2 separate regions of the Homo sapiens genome follow, and region 1 is linked to region 2. The links are contacts of gene promoters, found by promoter capture Hi-C in blood cells and fetal thymus (Javierre and others, 2016). All regions are on one chromosome and are shown on one strand. Each heading gives the region's core, a stretch centred on a gene start or on the middle of the fragment in contact. The rest is flanking DNA. Distances are from core to core; before and after follow the strand shown. Region 1 holds the start of HOXC6 (homeobox C6). Region 2 overlaps LOC105378250 (a long non-coding RNA gene).

Region 1 (2,700 bases), core at 114-2,613, 240 kb before region 2:
CGCTCGGTCAGGCAAAGCGCGTTGGCGATCTCGATGCGCCGGCGCCGCGTTAGGTAGCGATTGAAGTGAAATTCCTTCTCCAGTTCCAGGGTCTGGTACCGCGAGTAGATCTGGCGGCCGCGCCTCCGGTCCGCTCCGTAGCCGACCCCTAAAGATCCGGGCACAAAACACACTAAAAGCAATCAGCAAAGCGTCCTCTGCAGACTGTTTCGCCTAGCAAAGTCCTGACCCTCCCAACCTGGCCAGCAGCTCACAGCCTCCTTAGGGCTCTAGCCTTCTCCCTTTTGCCTTGCCCCACCCCCACTGGGGGTACAGCGAGGACCCCAACTTCAGACCTCCTATAAGGTGGGACCTGTGTGTCCCAAAGAAAGGTGTGTGGTGGGGGGGGGGGCGGGGGGGCGGGGCAAAAGGCAAACAGAAAGCTGCAAGTCTAAAAGCAGATTTTTGAAAAATCCCAGATAATGGGGATGAGGGCCCCCTTTCTCAAGGACTGGGCTCCCCCATCTCCCCAAGCATCCTAGTTCCTTGGAAACTTCTCCCCACTTATCTGCCTCTCCTCTCCCCCTCCCTTCTCCTCAGACTGACTCCACTTTGGGGGGCTCCCCTATCTTCTGCTCCCTCCCCTCATCCCCTGCCCTGTTCCTGCCCCCTCAGCCCGCCTTGGGGCCCTCCAATCCGTCAGGGGCCAAGGGGGCCAGGCCCCTGCAAGCGAGCGAGAGGCGAGCTGAGGGGGCAGAAGAGGGGGCCCTGTCTCGGTGAGGAGACGAGCGTGATTGTTTTTATGGGGCCATAAAAAACTCTCTCCGCCCGTTCTTCTAGGGAAGCCGGTCATAAAGCCAGTTCAGTTTATTTAATTTATATCTCGGAGCTGTAAAACTCACCACTGTGCGAATTCATTCGCTGCATCCAGGGGTAAATCTGGATACTGGCTTTCTGGTCCTGGGGCGCAGTCCTGCCCTGCTCAGAACTAAAATCCTGAGCGATTGAGGTCTGTGTGTTATGTCCTAAGGTGTTTTGTCTGCAGTTTGAGAGCATGTCTTTCTCCTGGTAAAAGGAATTAGATCCATAGTCATACGGCCCCCGGCTGGAACTGAACACGACATTCTCCTGTGGCGAATAAAAGGGAGTCGAGTAGATCCGGTTCTGGGCAACGGCCGCTCCATAGGTCGAGAAATGCCTCACTGGATCATAGGCGGTGGAATTGAGGGCGACGTTGGGGAGGACGTCCTGGCCCCCGGCGAGGTGGCAGGATAAGGAAGGGTTAGTGAAGTAGGAATTCATCCCTTTGCCTTTACCTGGTCGGTCTATGATTTCTTTAATATTTATTTCTGTCTCCAGTTTGTACTCGGAACTAGATGGTTATAGGGACGGCTCCAATCCAGGACAGACAAAATGACAAAGTCAGCTGACCCCCTCCCAGCCAATCGCAAGCCAGATGTCAGGAAGGGGGAAAAAAATCGCTTCTGCTTCTGTTGATTCCCTAGTTGAGACTAAGTGTGTGCTTTGAAAGTAAGACTTGGATTTCTTTTAAAAAATATATATATATATATATATATGTAAGGGAACTGGTTTGGTGGTGAAGGAGGGGTGCATGTCCCTGAGCAGGGCCTTGGGACTCAGGGAAGGAGAGCTGTACTACCAGGAAATCTCTCAGCCCCAGCTAACTTTGCTGTGCTGTGGCCAGAGCCAGGGCTAGAGAAACCCCTGTATTTTCAATCTGGTTTCATGTTTTATATCTGCCCCCTTCTAAAATTACATCCTGATTTCTCCAAGGGAAGAACTCCCTCCCAGCACAGGAGGGGGGTCCCTAGAAATCCTGCAGGAAATCCTGTTTTGACACTCCATGGAGTGAGTCCCATCACTAAACTAGTATTTTTTTCACCAATAATTAAAAAAAAATCAAAAGTAGAAAGAAATTTCATAAAACCTGTTCCCCTGAGTAAGTAGAGTGTGGCTGAGAGTCTTGAATGTAGTAGGGATGTGGGGAACAACTAGGTCTAAAGGGGCAAGACTTCAGGGTACAGTGGCAGAGCTGGAGTGGGCAAATGGGCCACGCATCTGCTCTCCTTTGCCTCCTGGCTCCCTTCTGCCTCCTTCTCAGGACCCCTCTGTTGGGAAAACTCTTCCAGCATTTTTGCCTAAAAGGGAAAATGTATAAAAAATGCAATAGAAAAAGGAGAAAAAGAAGTAAAATGTAGGGAGGTGGCACCGGAGGGGGAAAGACAGAGAGAAAGAGAGAGAGAGGAAGAACGAAAACTCTGAGAATCTTTCTAGAGACATCAACTCCTGTTTATGTTGGTGAGAATTTATTATTTGGAGCCAGTGAGGGCCTGTGGGGTAATTCACATAGGATCCAGCCAGAAAGAGAAGGCTGGTGGGGCTCTGATGGACAGTTAGCTTCCTGCAGGCTCAAGCCCCTGCCTTGGTCAGAAGCCCCCCTGCCCCCTCCAGACTCAGGGCACCGCCAGTGGAGGCGCCCCTGGACCTGAGCTATGAGGCTTGGAGACTTCAGAAAGGGGTTCTAAGGAGCTCTCACCCAAGTGCCAGTCACCCGTGGTGGGGATGGGCCTCTCAGCAACCTCAACGCCCATTTTATTCCCCCATCTTGGGGCTAAAAAAAGGGAAGAGACGGTTACGAAAAGGCAGCTGAATCCGAGGCTTGTGAGGGAGCCGCAGTAGGCGAACTGAAACAGCGGAAAG
Region 2 (2,700 bases), core at 195-2,694:
GAAGGAAGATTCCCTGTTAGTCTCTATAGCAAGAACCTGTTTATGTCCTTCAGGTATTTATCATAATCTGTAATCATTTAATTGCTTGTTTTCTTGCTTATTGACTGTTCCGCACTAGAAAAAGCTCTATATTTAAATGAAAAAAAGAATGGATGATGAATAAATAAGTTATAAGGGAATAAACCTACCAGAGGGATAAAAACTTCCCTATAATATGATATATATCATGTCCAGATCTTAATAACAATAGTATCTTCTTTCTTAGCATTTTGACGTTTATTTCCAGATTTTTCTATGAACAATTTTTTACATTGCTTAAATAACATACACTTAAAAATAAAAATAATATACACTTAAAAAAATACACCATCATATACATTTTATGCTATTATAAACTCACGTAAATAGCCTTTTTATGACAACATATTAGAGTTCAAGTTGGAGTGAGATCATCATGTATTAACAATAATATCTTATTTTATTTATTTACTTATTTATTTTTGAGACAGAGTCTCGCTCTGCCTCCAGGCAGAGGAGTGGCGCAATCTCGGCTCACTGCAACCTCCGACTCCCTGGTTCAAGCGATTCTCCTGCCTCAGCCTCCCAAGTAGCTGGGATTACAGGCACGTGTCACCACGCCCAGCTAATTTTTGTATTTTTATTAGAGACGGGATTTTTCACCATGTTGGCCAGGATGGTCTCGATCTCCTGACCTCATGATCCTCCTGCTTCGGCCTCCCAAAGTGCTGGGATTACAGGCGTGAGCCGTCACGCCCTGCCAACACTAATGTCTTTAAAATATCCATAATGCCCTTACTTCCACATCTCTACCCATGGCCTCTTACTTACAACTGTATACCACTCATTAAATTTATTTTTTTGTTGTTGTTTTTTGTTTTTTGAGATGGAATCTCGCTCTCTTGCCCAGGCTGGAGTGCAGTGGCGTGATCTCTGCTCACTGCAAGCTCCGCCTCCCGGGTTCACGCCATTCTCCTGCCTCAGCCTCCCGAGAAGCTGGGACTACAGGCGCCCACCACCATGCCCGACTAATTTTTTTGTATTTTTTTTTTTTTAGTAGAGTCGGGGTTTCACTGTGTTAGCCAGGATGGTCTCGATCTCCTGACCTCATGATCTGCCCACCTCGGCCTCCCAAAGTGCTGGGATTACAGGTGTGAGCCACCGCGCCCGGCCGCTTCATTAAATTTATTTAACAATTGTTTGCTCTATGTTAAACATTGTGTAGAGAATATAAAATATTCAGGACACAGTCCCTCTGCTCCAAAAGCTTATAGTTGAGTAAGGGAGAAACAGAAGACGCACAACTATAGCTGACAATCAGTCAAAGGAGGATAGGAGTTGAAAGTAAAGAAATTGCTTCCAGGTAGGGCTATCCAGGAAGGCTCGGACAGGGGGTAACATCTAAGCTAAGCCATGATGATTGTGTAGGATTTCAGCAGTCAGAAATTGGGAGGAAGGAATTCCAGGGAAAAGACAGCTAATGGGAAGGAATTCTTGATTTTGGGGATCATTTGATATGGAACTGCTATTTATTATTAGAAATGCAAAGAACAGTGAAATTCAAGATAAAACTGCAGAAGCTTGAGGTTTTAAAAAAGGATGACAAGAACCAGGACCTGGATCCCAGTTCAGGTTCCATTTGTCCCCACGTCTATTGTATCCAGTGTTATTTAAGGAATGCATATAAGGTTCAAACAGGACAGGGTGCCCATTGTGCTTCCTTCTATATGTCTCTCATCTTCCCTCTTCCCCCACTGAGTTCTTTATTAACAATGAAATGATTTCTTAATCTCATTACTGAGAAAAGCACAAAGCACAGAAAAGCATATGCTACACAAATTAAGCTGGGTAATTTGCATACCTAGGGAAAGGGAGAAACCCCTCCCCCTTCCTTCTCCAGAGTCAATTTTCCTCGATCTTCTGACACCATATGTCAATAAATATCTATATTTCCTCATGCCCTGGACAGGAGATGCTGTTAAATGTCAAATATAAAGTAAAGTTTGTCATAAAAATCCCTCATAAAAAAATCTCCCAACTACCAGCATTGAAAGATGGAGGAAGGGAATTCCTGTGTTGTGTTTGCCTCCTAATAATGTTCAGATCATCCAGCTTTTTGCTTCCAGGAGCATCACAGACAATCTTTTCTTAAAGTTTTCTACAAAAGCATGCAGGGGCTTTCAACTCCTCTTACCATCCTTGCTTCTGCAAAAGTTTGTTCTCATTCTTTTTGTTTTTTTTTAATAAAACAGAACCACTGTTTAAATAACCAGTTTCTCATAATCTCAACTGTAGATGTATTTGTACATTTTTTAATTCTCCTCTTTCTGACAAAGTATAGAGGCCCACTTAGAAGCAAAGAAATAAATAAAACGAATTATCTGAGCACCTTCTATCAAGGGGTTCTAGGAGAGTGATGGTAGATGTGGGTGGTACTCATACAAGGGCGACTGTGTGTTAGGCTAGAAAGTAAAGGACAGGAGAGGATTGCCTTGTGGCTGCTGTTTCTCTTTCTCTGCAAACCTCCTCTGATTATAGCAGATTTATAAGGGCCCCAAAGCAGCCCAGCATCTTAGCCATAAACTTCCCAGAAAGAAAACTCATTGAAGTTCCCTTGAGAGGTGATGAAAAATAAATATCAGGGTTTGGTACAAACACATCAGCCAAGATCAGGGGTGGAAG

What was found. Contacts are between HindIII fragments. The CHiCAGO score rates a contact against its expected background, and 5 or more counts as called.
Region 1: a contact is called between the fragment with the promoter of HOXC6 here and a fragment that was not itself captured in region 2, in 1 of 17 cell types (M1 macrophages). The highest score is 5.7, in M1 macrophages.

The regions. Positions count from the first base shown.
Region 1 is chr12:54,027,103-54,029,802 of GRCh38, reverse strand. It overlaps HOXC6 (homeobox C6), which reads right to left and starts at 1,363. Exons shown (of 2, transcript NM_004503.4): 1 at 882-1,363; 2 at 1-148. The coding sequence starts at 1,281. It also overlaps a transcript of HOXC4 not described here and a transcript of HOXC5 not described here. The HindIII fragment of the contact is 15,214 bases long and covers 1-2,700 here.
Region 2 is chr12:53,789,067-53,791,766 of GRCh38, reverse strand. All of the region lies in intron 1 of LOC105378250 (a long non-coding RNA gene), which reads right to left. Among named protein-coding and RNA genes, the nearest start is that of CISTR, 38 kb to the right of the region's middle. The HindIII fragment of the contact is 313 bases long and covers 1,288-1,600 here.